Regions from separate parts of the Homo sapiens genome. Here region 1 is linked to region 2. Evidence: promoter capture Hi-C in human tissues and cell types (Jung and others, 2019). All regions are on one chromosome and are shown on one strand. The core of a region is centred on a gene start or on the middle of the fragment in contact, and the rest is flanking DNA. Distances in the headings are between cores, read along the strand shown. Region 1 holds the start of OR2AT4 (olfactory receptor family 2 subfamily AT member 4). Region 2 holds the start of XRRA1 (X-ray radiation resistance associated 1).

What was found. Contacts are between HindIII fragments. The study calls those that stand out against the background at their distance.
Region 1: a fragment that was not itself captured here is called in contact with the fragment with the promoter of XRRA1 in region 2 in 2 of the 25 tissues and cell types used here (liver and mesenchymal stem cells).

What each region holds. Positions count from the first base shown.
Region 1 is chr11:75,095,037-75,102,253 of GRCh38, forward strand. OR2AT4 (olfactory receptor family 2 subfamily AT member 4) reads right to left here and starts at 1,840. Exons shown (of 2, transcript NM_001405852.1): 1 at 1,792-1,840. It also overlaps the pseudogene LOC100421207. RefSeq lists a cis regulatory region at 1,699-2,214 and enhancers at 4,824-6,023, 5,299-5,368, 5,639-5,708. The HindIII fragment of the contact is 2,061 bases long and covers 2,633-4,693 here.
Region 2 is chr11:74,943,333-74,950,692 of GRCh38, forward strand. It overlaps XRRA1 (X-ray radiation resistance associated 1), which reads right to left and starts at 5,759. Exons shown (of 19, transcript NM_001378157.1): 1 at 5,596-5,759; 2 at 1,686-1,753. It overlaps SPCS2 (signal peptidase complex subunit 2), which reads left to right and starts at 5,934. Exons shown (of 5, transcript NM_014752.3): 1 at 5,934-6,067. The coding sequence starts at 5,954. RefSeq lists enhancers at 5,127-5,981, 5,479-5,528, 5,649-5,708, 5,839-6,058, 5,982-6,836 and 1 more. The HindIII fragment of the contact is 13,977 bases long and covers 1-7,360 here.

The DNA of each region.
Region 1 (7,217 bases), core at 2,413-4,912, 150 kb after region 2:
GAGGGGAGAAATTCAGAGCCGTCAAGCCTGACTGAGCCTCTCTTCCCACCTCCTCCCTCACTTCTATTAAACAGCAGGGAGACAGATGCTGAGTCTGAAGTCCAGAAATAGTGTCTTTTCAAGGTCAACCAACAAATTCATAGCAGAAGTAGGTTTTAAAGCCGGTGTCCTGGCTCCCACCCAGTCTTTGTAGGATGTTTCATGAGAGAGGATGATTCCTTAGCCTGCTATTCAAAGCCTGTCTTCTTGCAGCCTTGTTTCTCCTTATTCTAGTCAAATGGCAACTCCTTGCTCTTGCCTTGTGCTTCTGCCAAATTCAGCTCAAATATTACTTCCTCCAAGAGATCTTCTATGGTCCTGGCTGGCTCAGGAGCCTCTTTCCTGGGCTCTTGAAGTTCCTGTGCTTCTGTTTGTCATTATTATGATTACACCAGGTTGTCTCTGTCTATTTATGTGTCCACCACACCAGGAGCACTTTCAGAGCAGTAATGGGGTCTGATCGTTTCTATTTGATACTGCACCATCCTTCCCAGGAGCTTAGTGCTCTGGAATGCAGCTTTCCAACTTGCCTTGTTTTGCTGATAAATCATCAAATAGGAATGAAGGGGCCATTAGTGATTAAATAGTTTTCACCTAACCTCTTTTTTTTTTTTTTTTTTGAGATTGAGTCTTGCTCTATCACCCAGGCTGGAGTGCAGTGGCACGATCTCGGCTCACTGCAACCTCTGCCTCCCGGGTTCAAGCGATTCTCATGCCTCAACCTCCCGAGTAGCTGGGATTACAGGCGCTTGCCACCATGTCCGGCTAATTTTTGTATTTTTAGTAGAGATGGTGTTTCACCATGTTGGCCAGGCTGGTCTTGAAGTCCTGATCTCAAGTGATCTGCCCGCCTCGGCCTCCCAAAGTGCTGGCATTTCACCTAACCTCTTTATTATATAGATGGGGACAGAAAAGGGAGTCCCAGAAATGGGCTGTGACTTTCCCAAGGTCACACAGTAAGTGGGTGATAGAACTAGAACTAGACTGTCAACAGAGCTAGATTATCAACTCACCTTGAGCTCTCCTGGACCAGCTCTGCCACTCTCTTGCTGTGATGCTGGGTCTCTGAGCCTCAGTTTTCCCATCTATAAAATGAGGACTTTGGAAGCAATGATCTCCAGCTTGATAAATATTTTGAGTATCTACTCTGTGTTTAGATAAATGAGAGATTCGAAGACAGATGTGTCATGGCCTCAGCCTCTTAGGAAGGAGAGCAAGGGCGCTCTCATTTGTTAAGCTTCTGTTGCCTGCTTGATTCTTTACAGTCATTACACATCATTACGACGCCCAAACTCATGCAGTTCTCTCATGATATTCTCACCATCCTGCACTGTTTCCATAGAAAAGGAGCAGGATATACGTGAAGCACAGAATCTAGGTCTATTAACTTTGCAGTTAGAAAGGCCTGAGTTTCCTTCCTGGCTCCACCACTTTGTGCTTTCCTCCAATGGACTGCAATTCCCTCACAAATTATTCCCATTTCTCTTATCGTCATCAGCTTTGCCTCCTTGTGAGGAATTCTCTTCCAAGATCATTAGCCTCTTGCTTGTGACTGCACAGCCCTGCCCCTGCCTGCGAGGGTGTCTGGTCTACACTCACCCAGGCTGACTGCGTGGTTGACTTGGATCCTGGGACCCTGACATTCCCAGGATCTTTACTGTGGTTGTACATGCCCCCAACCTCCCTGAGCCTATCTCCCCATCCCAGTCTCTGCCTGCTCTGCGCACTCCATCCCCAGCCCAGCTCACCTACCAATCCTGGTCCGCCTTGATGTCTTGTGTAGAGTCGTCACAGTTGGCCTTGGTTGGGAAGAGCCAGGTAGAAACTCAACCATGGCCCTTTAAACCCTCGGGCCCCTCTCTGCAACCAGGCCTGCTGGGGCTCTCTCCCCACAAGAAGGCTCACCCGTGGGACCAGATAACTGCCAGTCAGCTGAGAACAACTTCCGAGGGTGGAGTGGGGGACTTTGTTCTGGGCTTTGCTGATAATGAAAACAACATCATTAACAACCCTCATGGGTCCCAGAACTTTATCACCAGTATTATTCCTGTTTTCCCATCTGGTCCTCACAATAGCCAGGGAAGACAGGCAGAGTCAGGATTATTTCCACTATTTTACATTTGAGGAAACTGAGATCTAGAGAAGTGAGGTGACTTGCCCAAGGTCATATGAGTGGCTGGTGGCAGAGCTGGGATTTGTACCCAAGGCTCCAATTCTGGTTCAGTGGTTCAGCAACATGTTATCTAATGACTAAGACCCGAGTTATTCCCAGTAATATGACTTTGAACAAATCCCTTAACCTCACTGGGTCTTCATTTTGTCATCTGTGGAATGGGTATAACGACACTAACTCTCTCACAGGATAACTGGGCAGGTTGAGGTGCTTCACCCAGTTCCTGCCACTTATTAGGCATTCAATAAGTGGGAGCTATTATTTTAATGGACCAAAGCAGTAAAGCCTTGTTCAATGAGTATGTGATACTTCCGCTGCTGTGCAATGAGAACTTGCAAAGGTTTTGTGGAAAGAATGTGAGGGTGGAAGTCTCTGCCCCAACCCCATACAGGACAAAGTCAAGAGTCACAGACTCTTCCTGCCTCAATCTTTCTGATTCTCTCCTTTGGCTCCAGTGTTCTGTTTCTGACTTGACTGACTTGGTCACTCCTACTAATACTCATAAAATTTTAATTTTTTTTTAATTTCACAAGTAATAAACAGAACCTCATTGTAGAACATTTTAATCAATACAGAGCTTTACTGAGTCAAAAGTGAAAGTTCTAGGCCGGGTGTGGTGGCTCACGCCTGTAATCCCAGCACTTTGCCGGGCCGAAGGGGGAGGATCTCTTGAGTCCAGGAGTAAGAGAGCAGCTTGGACAACTGGCAAAACTCTATCTCTACTGAAAAATACAAAAAAATTAGCTGGGCATGGTGGCATGCACCTGTAGTCTCAGTGAGAGGTGACAGCGTGCTGGCAGTCCTCACAGCCCTCGCTCGCTCTCGGTGCCTCCTCTGCCTGGGCTCCCACTTTGGCGGCACTTGAGGAGCCCTTCAGCCCACCGCTGCACTGTGGGAGCCCCTTTCTGGGCTGGCCAAGGCCGGAGCCGGCTCCCTCAGCTTGCAGGGAGGTGTGGAGAGAGAGGCGCGAGTGGGAACCAGGGCTGCGCCTGCGCTTGCAGGCCAGCTGGAGTTCTGGGTGGGCGTGGGCTTGGCGGACCCCACACTCAGAGCAGCCGGCCGGCCCTGCTGTCCCCAGGCAATAAGAGGCTTAGCACCCGGGCCAGCGGCTGTGGAGGGTGTACTGGGTCCCCCAGCAGTGCCAGCCCACTGGCGCTGTGCTCGATTTCTCTCTGGGCCTTAGCTGCCTTCCCGCGGGGCAGGGCTCGGGACCTGCAGCCCGCCATGCCTGAGTCTCCCACCCCCTCCCTGGGCTCCTGTGCGGCCCCCGCCTCCCCGATGAGTGCTGCCCCGTGCTCCACAGCACCCAGTCCCATCGACCACCCAAGGGCCGAGGAGTGTGGGCGCATGGCTCCGGGACTGGCAGGCAGCTCCACCTGCAGCCCCGGTGCGGGACCCACTGGGTGAAGCCAGCTGGGCTCCTGAGTCTGGTGGGGACGTGGAGAACCTTTATGTCTAGCTCAGGGATTGTAAATACACCAATCGGCACTCTGTATCTAACTCAAGGTTTGTAAACACACCAATCAGCACCCTGTGTCTAGCTCAGGGTTTGCGAATGCACCAATGGACACTCTGTATCTAGCTGCTCTGGTGGGGCCTTGGAGAATCTTTGTGTCTAGCTCAGGGATTGTAAACGCACCAATCAGCGCCCTGTCAAAACAGACCACTGGGCTCTACCAATCAGCAGGATGTGGGTGGAGCCAGGTAAGAGAATAAAAGCAGGCTGCGCGAGCCAGCAGTGGCAACCCGCTCAGGTCCCCTTCCACACTATGGAAGCTTTGATCTTTCGCTCTTTGCAATAAACCTTGCTACTGCTCACTCTTTGGGTCCACACTGCTTTTATGAGCTGTAACACTCACCGCGAAGGTCTGCAGCTTCACTCCTGAAGCCAGCGAGACCACAAGCCCACCAGGAGGAACGAACAACTCCAGATGCGCTGCCTTAAGAGATGTAACACCACGAAGGTCTGCAGCTTCACTCCTGAAGCCAGTGAGACCACTAGCCCACCGGGAGAAACGAACAACTCCAGATGCGCCGCCTTAAGAACTGTAACACTCCCCGCGAAGGTCTGCAGCTTCACTCCTGAGCCAGTGAGACCACCAACCCACCAGAAGGAAGAAACTCCCAACACATCCGAACGTCAGAAGGAACAAACTCCAGACGCGCCACCTTAAGAGCTGTAACACTCACCGCGAGGGTCCGTGGCTTCATTCTTGAAGTCAGTGAGACCAAGAACCCACCAATTCCGGACCCATCAGCTACCAGGGAAGCTGAGGCAGGAGAAACACCTGAGCCTGGGAAGTTCAGGCTGCAGTGAGCCACAGCTGTGCCTCTGCACTCTAGCCTTAGCAATGGAGTGAGACCCAGGAAGGAAGGGAGTGGTGGAAGGGGGGAAGGGGGGAAGGGAGGGAAGGGAGTGGGGGAAGGGAGGGAGGGAGGGAAGGGAGTGGGGGAAGGGAGGGAGGGAAGGGAGGAAGGGAGGGAAGGGAGTGGGGGAAGGGAGGGAGGGAGGGAAGGGAGGAAGGGAGGGAAGGGAAGGGAGGGAGGGGAGGGAGAGAAAGAGAGAGAAAGTTTTTTTTCACACCAATTCTTACCCATATTTTTCCTCCAGTCTTAACAATGGAGTGAGATCCTGTCAGAAAGAAAGGAAGGAAGAAAGAAAAGAAAGAAGAGTTAGTTAGTCTTCTTCACACCAATTCTTACCCACATTTTTCCTCCATGCTCCAGAAGTAAACATTATTACTGATTTGGTGTGTTTCTTCCAGACTTTTCTAAGCGCATGTGTTTGTGTATGTGTGTATGGTTTTGCTTTTCTTTTAATGTAAATTGAATCATTCTGTATTTATTGTATAGCATATTTTAATTTAATAAGTCTAGGAATTTTTCTGTGTCTGATCTACTTCATTTTTTTGTATCTGATATTTGGCATTTTGTAGTACAGATACAACATAGTTTGTCTAATAACTCATCTGTTGATGAACATTTAAGTTCTATCTCATTCTTGCTATTATGAAAACTATTATAATTAATTTCCTTTTAACATGCATTTGGGGTCACATGTGCTCAAATATTTCTCGGAGATAGACAGATCCTTAGAAGTAGAACTTCTGGGCCAAGCAGTCAGCACATTTTCAAATGGAATGGGGTGTGCATGTGCAGGGACTATCCCAGCTTCAAACCCAGAAGCTTTGAGGATGCTGAGTCACAGTGATGACTGAGATGACCCTGTTACACCCGGCCTGATGCTTCTGCCCAGGACCAGGGGAAAACCCATGCATGAAGGGTTCATTTCAGCCTGCAGAAGAGACTTCCCTATTAGACCTCTGCAGACTGTAGACTTTCAACTGCAGACTGGGAGGTTACTAAGTCCTTAGCAGCTGAGTACAGAACACGATGGAAATGAAAACATGGTACAACAGAGGTTACAGCCCTCTCCTGACCTGATAAACTTCATGATGGAGCTAAAGATGGTTTGGGAAGTTTCTTTGAATCACAAGCAGAACTGTATGTGCTGTCTCCTCCTGTCTGGATCTACTCACTACTTGCTAAAGAGAAGAATTTTGGTTTGGGATAAATTTATGTGGATCTTCGCTTTGGTGCCATAAAGGTAAGTGCTAAAGATGTTTCTGGGGGAGAAGACTAAGCTCTCTTAAGTTAAAGGCAAAGAATCCTGCAAAATCACCAGGTGGTTAGGTGGATTCTTTTGTTCTGTTTTCCATTTCTTAGACGTGATGAGATCCCTAATAAGCCTTAAAAAGCCATCTTTTGGCGGCATAAGAATGACTTAAGGCTTTCGAGATGTTATGTATGAAAGTAACTAAAAGACTTGGGCACTTGGGCTGAAATAACCCATATGGAGTGCAACAGTTAAGAGAATTGCAATAAGTAGGAGAAAACAAACAAAAACTAAAATTTAGAATCCTTTTGGATTTCCTATTTTGTTTTACTAAAGAGAATGAACCAAAATAGAGAGTAAAACTGTTGGCTGAGATTTCTTTGTATAAAAAGCCAACATTCTAAGACTTACTTTTATAACATTATGGGATAAAATAGGATTTCTTTTATTACCTCTAAGAATAAAACTCTCCTCATCCTGCTAGGAAATGACTGGCTTTTCTATAGCCATAGTAACAATGATCAGAACTTGTTTAAAACATGCTTAACTGGCTGGGCATGGTGGCTCACACCCGTAATCTCAGCACTTTGGGAGGCCAACGTGGGTGGATTGCCTGAGCTCAGGAGTTTGAGAACAGCCTGGGCAACATAGCTGAAACCCCGTCTCTACGAAAATACAAAAAAAAAAAAAAAAAATTAGCTGGGCGTGGTGGTGTGCACCCGTGGTCCCAGCTACTCAGGAGGCTGAGGCATGAGAATTGCTTGAACTCAAGAGGTGGAGGTTGCAGTGAGCCGAGATTACACCACTGCGCTCCAGCCTGGGCAACAGAGTGAGACTCTGTTTCCCAAAAACCTCAAAAAACAAACAAAGAAACATACTTAATTGTTTAATCACAGCTTTGAGCCAGTACCCACACTTCTGAAAGTCAGGGAATCTAAAAGCCACTCAGCAATGGTTTAACTCCAGTAACCACACTTCCATAGCTAAAAGCAAACTAATCCCTAAACACTCCCACCTTTGAAAGTCCACCAACCCCAGATCTCCACATTTTCCACAGCCCTGTGTAAGATCAGCTCCCTGTGTTTCTCAAAAACAGACTATATCATAAACCATAGCATCCTGTGCTTACACTAGTGATACATTCAGCCTTTTGTTTCTGATATTGAGTGGTGATCTGTTCCTTTAACATTTCTTATTTATTTCCATATGGTCTATAGTAATGTCCCCTCTTTCACTTCTGATTTTAGTAATGGGAGTCTTATCTCTTTTTATATTGGTAGGCTAAAGTTTTAACAGTTTTATTGATATAGTCAAGGAACCAACTTTGGTTTTGTTGATTTTCTTTATTTTTCTATTCTCTATTTCATTTATTTCTGTTCTAATCTTTGT
Region 2 (7,360 bases), core at 4,509-7,008:
AAAGGCATGGATAGCCCTAATCACAACTGCACTTATCATTTGTCATTCACAGATTGTTCACCACAGTCTGATGTCAAACCTTGGAAAAACCTACATTTTACCGAGGACTTGCAAACACAAATGGTTACAGAAGTTGGGCAGGCTATGTGAGTGAGTGAAGAAAGCTGGAGGCGAGGGGAAGAGAGTAGGAGGGTGTGTGTGTGTGTGTGTGTGTGTGTGTGTGTGTGTGTATGTGTCAGAGAGAGAGAGAGAGAGAGTGCACCTGCTCATAGAGGCAGCAACTAGTCAGCTCTTACCAACTGCTGCCATGCAGAAACCTAAGTCACTGTTGCCAGAGCTTCACTTTTTTTTCAAGGAAAGTCTGCCTTATACGTGAAATCTCCTATTTGAGAGTCAGCAACTAATTTGCCATTTTAGAACAATGTGCAGGCCAAACCAAACACCTGAGAATCAGATTCAACTCCAGGCTACATTTCTTTTTTCTGATTCATCTTTTTTTTTTCTTTTGAGACAGTGTCTTACTTTGTCACCTAGGCTACAGTACAGTGGCACAATCACGGCTCATTGTAGCCTCAACCTCCTGGGCTCAAACAATCCTCCTACCTCAGCCTCCTGAGTAGCTGGGACTATAGGCACATGCCACCATGTCTGGCTAATTTTCGTATTTTTTGTAGGCACAGGGTTTCGCCATATTGCCCAGACTGGTCTCAAACTCCTGTGCTCAAGCCATCCACCCACCTTGGCCTCCCACTGGAAGGCCAGTGGAAATAACTGCTGCTTTTGCTAAGCTGTGAAGTCTTTCATCAGTATTTCTTTCGTGGCCCGACCTCACAAGATTATTAATGATCATGAAGGGGTACCTTCAATGGACTATGAATTTCCAAGTCTGGAAACACATCTAATTCACTGTCTCTCTTCCACCATTGGGACTTAGCTCATAGGAAGCACGCAATAGACATGTGAGCCAAGTGAAGGATATGATGGCACTCCTAGGACCAAGACATATATATCTGCTACACACGCACACACACATATCCTCAATTAGACTCTAAAACCTTCCTAAGAAAGGGCAATATCAATGGTAGTCATCAATTTATTCCTAACAAAGCACCTAACATAACAGATGTTATGACATAACAGATTCCATAAATATTTGTGGAATAAATGAATCAATGTTGGTACCTCCTTTGGTCCAACACAGGGCACTATGAGTTTCCTGATCCCTGATTTTCCCTGCAAAGGGATGGAGGCTTGTCTTATGTATTCCTACAACACTCCATACTTCGCCTAGTATAGCACTTATGACTTTATTATAATTGTTTGCTCCCCTCATCAACTTCTCACCTGTTGTGGGGCCTATAATTACCTTATTCACCTGTGTAATCCCAGCATGTAGCATAGAGCCTACGACTCACTAAAAATATGTTGGTAAGATTAATGGATAGATGGATGGATGGGGACAAATTTATATTCAGTCAATATGTCTTTCAGGAACTCTCTCTCATGACCAATCACACACATCTGCTAGAGGTAAATGAAAGAATGAATGAGTAACTTGCTGGCTGGAAAATGTTAGATGTGATGTAATTTGCTGGCTGGAAAATGTTAAATATGATGGCTGTTGGAGAAGCCTTCAGTAACTTACAGAATATGGTGACCTGGCTTCAGGTCTCCAGAGTACTTACTTGATCTTTGACTTTGGGAATGGCCCCTTAACTTCCTTTTTTTTTTGTTTCTTCACTTGTTTCTTTGCCTGTAAGATAAATATTATATTCCTTCTTAGCCTGCTATTCAGAGCTCTTGAACTTCCTCATTAATTATATTCTACTGTGAGCCTTCCACTCCAATATTTGTCTTGCCTTTAGTCCTTGCCCGTAGGACTAAGGATCCAAGAAACAGATAGATACCAATACAGAGATGGAGACAAAGACAAGACATAGATGGGAAGGTGGTATAGGAGAATATAATTATGATAGTGGGGTATGGCTGGAGTGCTTAAATCAGACACACGAAGCACAAACCTGAAAGGACGGGATCGTTTACATGATTATTTACACAAAATAAATTTCTGCCAGATAAAAATAGGAAAGTCAAAGTTGAAAGATAAGACACAGTCTGGGAAAAGATATTTGCCATGCATATAATACAAAAGATGACTCACACTGAAGCCTGTAGGAGGCATGCAGACCTGGATGCTATCGCAGAAATTCTAGTTCCCTATTAGGAATATTAGGTGAGAAGGTGTAGATCTACAACTAATGGGCCAAGAAGGGCACATAACCCCTGGTTACATTATCTAAGACAAGTAAGATCTTTATATGGTAGAAAAAAAAGTCAAAGTTCCAGATTTGGAGGCTGACTTCCTGGTTAGCTTTAGTTACCTCTGGTCTCCATCTCAAACTTGATGCAGCTAATGCCAATCTGACTGTAGCGCTTCCTCCAAAACAAACATCTCTCTTTCTCTCTCTCTCACACACACACACACAGAGTAAGGCATATTTTTGCTTGTTCCATTCCTTTGGCCTATCACATTTCTGCCCCTCTTCCTTGCCCGGCTACATACAGATTAGCTTTCCTGTATCTCCCTCTCCTTAGGCTGAGCCTCCTCAAGCCCACTTCTTTTTTTATTTATTTTTTCTTTTTTTCTTGAGACAAGGTCTCACTCTGTTACCCAGGCTGGAGTGCAGTGGCATGATCTCAGCTCACTGCAACCTCCACCTCCCAGACTCAAGCAATCCTCCCACCTTAGCCTCCCAAGTAGCTGGACCACAGACGTGTGCTACCATGCCCAGCTAAATTTCTATATTTTTGATAGAGATGGGTTTTCACCATGTTGCCCAGGCTGCCTCAAACTCCCAACTCAGCCTCTCAAAGTGTTGGGATTACAGGCGTGAACCCCCTTGCCCAGCCATCAGGCCCACTTCTTAATGGAGGCACTAACATGGTTAGGCTTTGTGTCCCCACCCAAATCTCATCTTGAATTGTAATCCCCATAATCCCCATGTGTTGAGAGAGAGACCTAGTAGGAAGTGATTGGATCAAGGAGGTGGTCCCCCATGCTGTCCTCACCATAGTGAGTGAGCTCTCACGAGATCTGATGGTTTTATAACTGACAGTTCCTCCTTCACACTCTTGCCCTCTCTTGCCTGTTGCCATGTAAGACTTGCCTCTTCCCTTTCCGCCATGATTGTAAATTTCCTGAGGCCTCCCCAGCCATGCAGAACCGTGAGTCAATTAAACCTCTTTCCTTTATAAATTACCCAGTCTTGAGCAGTTCTTTATAGCAGTGTGAAAATGGACTAATACAGGCACTATACCACACTGTATTATAATGCCTGCTTCCTTGTTTGTTCCCCACCTCACTACAGGCTGTGAGTATCTCCAAGGTCAGGTCAGGCCTGGGTCCTACTTACCTCTTTTTCTTTTTTTTTTTTTTTGAGACGGAGTCTTGCTCTGTCACCCAGGCTGGAGTGCAGTGTCGCTATCTCAGCTCACTGCAAGCTCCGCCTCCCGGGCTCACGCCATTCTCCTGCCTCAGCCTCCCTAGAAGCTGGGACTACAGGCGCCCGCCACCATGCCTGGGTAATTTTTTGTATTTTTAGTAGAGACGGGGTTTCAACATGTTAGCCATGATGGTCTTGATCTCCTGACCTCGTGATCCGCCCGCCTCGGCCTCCCAAAGTGCTGGGATTACAGGCGTGAGCCTGTACTTATCTCTTTATCCTGCATCTCACACAGGACCTGGCCTACTGAAGGAAGAGTCTCAATGATTGTTAATTGAACTAACCCAACCCATGAACAAAATGCCACAGGAGCACTTCATGCAGTGGGTGAAGAAAGAAGAAGCAAGTATCAGAAATAGTTTCACAGGGTAGGTGACATTAAAGCTGGATCTTGAAAGATGAGAAGTTGGCCTGGTGTGGTGGTTCATGCCTGTAATCCCAGCACTTTGGGAGGCCGAAGCAGACGGATCACTTGAGGTCATGAGTTCAAGACTAGGCTGTCCAACACGGCGAAATCCTGTCTCTACTAAAAATATAAAAATTAGCCAGGTGTGGTGGCATGTGCCTGTAGTCCCAGCTACAAAGACTACAGCTTGGGAGGCTGAGGCACAAGAACTGCTTGAACCCAGGAGGCAGAGGTTGCAGTGAGCCAAGATCCCACCACTGCACTCCAGCCTGGGTGACAGAGTGAGACTCTGTCTCAAAAAATAAAAAATAAAATAAAAAGTGACTAGGGCAATGCTGTATCATCTCACTTTATTTTAAATAAAAGAAAAATGAGAAGTTGTAAAAGATAAACTGCAACAACAAGCTACAGGGGATCTGACTAGTGTCCACGGATTGCTTCACAGAGGTAATGAAATATCATCTGATGTTATTGCTATTTAGTGATATTTATTTTCTTTTTAGTAATAATTTAGTTATTTAGTGATAATTATTTTCTTTTCTTTCTGATCTCGGCTCACTGCAACCTCCGCCTCCCCGGTTCAAGCAATTCTCCTGCCTCAGCCTCCCAAGTAGCTGGGATTACAGGTGCCCGCTACCACGCCCGGCTCATTTTTGTATTTTTAGTAGAGACGGGGTTTCACCATGTTGGCCAGGCTGGTCTTTAACTCCTGACCTCAGGTGATCCGCCTGCCTTGGCGGGGATTACAACCATGAGCCCCCACGCCCGGCCGAGATAATTATTTTCACATGAATTTTGGCTTCCCCAAGACAAGTTTTTGTCTGTTTTATTCAGGGATATATCCCTGGTGACTAGAATAGTGCCTGTTACATAGTAAGAAACTCAAAAATATTTGTTTAATTCTTTAGACGCTTATGGGGGATATATAGGAATTAAAAAACAATACAACGTAATAGAGCATGGTATAATACAATACTGCTATTTGATAACTCTGTCATGGAGTAGTAGTTCCACCAGAGTAGCAACCAGGTCTATCTTGATCCCCTGTATCCGTTAGTACAATATTGGTGCTCAATATACATTTGTGAAAAAAATTAATTAAAATACAACGTAATAGAGCATGGTATAATACAATACTGCTATTTGATAACTCTGTCATGGAGTAGTAGTCCACCAGAGTAGCAACCAGGTCTATCTTGATCCCCTGTATCCGTTAGTACAATATTGGTGCTCAATATACATTTGTGAAAAAAATAATTAAAATCTAGAATACTATTACATCCTAAAACCGTAAAAGCAGAGTGTCAGAAGGGATATATATTGGTTTTGATTTTTTTTAAATGCCGGCTTGAAAACCGAGTTCAGATACATGCTATCTGGCTTTGGGTAGGTTCTTTAGTTTCCTCCTCATCTAACAGGGCTGTTGTGGGACTCAGTGAGAGAGAGGATGGCTGGAAGTGCACATAGGATACTGCCTGGCAGACTGTAGGCACTCAGTAAACGCGAGTTCTCCGTTAACACGAAAACATTACAAACAGCTAAAATGACAGCTGCTTGAGAGAATAATCGGTAAGTGCCACAACCGGGCTAGAAAAGGATGAAGGACAAGCTCCTGCCCACTCCTTTGGAAACTCCACACCTGGGCCGGAGAAAGACTCGAATTCGAAAACTAAGTTTCAGTCGCACCTGCCTCCGGCGTCGCTTCAGCCTCCGAGGGGTCTGCGGAGGCGACGTCCCAGTCAGGAGGGATGCGCGCCTGCGAGCCCCCCGGGGATCTCGGAGCCGCTCCACTGCGGTGCCTGCCGCTATCTTCCCCACGCCTTAGTAACTGCGACGCGACGGCAGACAGTGTAGGCGGCAACCGACGGCCGGGACGTCTAACCTCAAGTCCCAGCAAGCCCCGCGGCCACGTCCTCTGACTACCTCGCGCCAGCAAGACCCAAACTACGGATCCCGATTGACTCCGCGCGGCGCGTCACGCTGTCAGCTCCAGCCAATCGGCTTCAGACAAGTCGGAGGGGAGGGAGACGCAGAGGCGGACAAGATGGCGGCGGCAGCTGTACAGGGCGGGAGAAGCGGTGGTAGCGGAGGCTGTAGTGGGGCTGGTGGTGCTTCCAACTGCGGGACAGGAAGTGGCCGTAGCGGCTTGTTGGATAAGGTGAGGAGCCGGTTCTTGGGAACAGTTGAATCCTGGGGAGGCCTGGGAGGCGGCGAGCCAACCTTCCCATCCCGGTCTCCCTTATTTTCTACGGCCTTTTGAGGGGAGCCCTTGTGTGACCACTATCACAACCCTACGCACGCTTGGAGCCTGCCCTTGCCCTCATCACACTTCAAACCTGGACCCGGTCCTCTTTAGAACTTCTTCTTTTCTCGCAAGTGTTCTGGTCCTGGTCGCCACACCTTTTTCGGTAATTTGATTTTTCCTATATTTAATCGTGTCCATCTCTTTTCTCCTGGGGGGCTGGGTGCACTGTTGTCAGTGCCCATTTCACAGACACGGAAAACCGAAGCCCAAAGATTAAAGAATCAGTATCCCCCAAACTCTCTACCACCATCACCCTTGCGTGCTGCTACAGATTCCAAAGTGCTTCTTGTCCTTTTGCTTACTGAAGTTTTTAGGCGTTTTATCATGATAGGCGAATACTGAAAATATTTGAGTATTGACTGTTCTACTGGGCTGACAAGAAGCCTTTAAGATTTTTCTTTTTTTCCTGTTGTTTTTCCCCGCCCTCTCCTCTCTTCCCTCCACCTCCCTCTTTGCTACCAAGTGCACTGCTGCCCGCTCACGCTTGCCCCTTTCCTCCCTCTGCTCATCCAAAAAAATTTTTTTTAACTGCAGTCCTAGCAACAAGGGTTTAAAAGAAAAGAAAAAAAGGAAAACTGTCCCTGGGTTGGCCTTTCTTGCTCTTTGCACAGCATCTTGGAAGAAACAGTTGCACGGAGAACAACGTCCTGGTGTTGATTTTGCCTCTAATTAGCTTTGTGACCTTGAAATATGCTTGCTCTCTCTATATCTGTTTTCTCATCTGCAAAGTGAGAGATTTAGCCTTAAAATGAGGGACTTAACTCTAAATTCCCTTCCAGTTCTCTCATTGTAGGGCCCTGGGCTGGTTTGATGAGAATTGTTAAGCATGGTGTCTTTAATATAGTAAGCAGAATTTTTGAATATAATTGAAAACAGCTTTCAGACTTCCCTGTGCATAACACATGGTAGGTGCTTAAGAAATGAAAACATGATTATGTTGAGGGGTTAAGATCCAGGTCTTTTTACTTGTCTTTTTGAGTGTCATTGGTTTTGAAAGACATGGTTCTCACACTCTTCTCTTGTGAGAGGGGTCACGCTCCATTGCCCAGAATGGATCTTAGCTCACTGCGGCCTTGAACTCTTAAGCTTAGGTGATCTTCCCACCCCAGCTTCCTGAGTAGCTGGGACTGCAAATGTGCACCACTA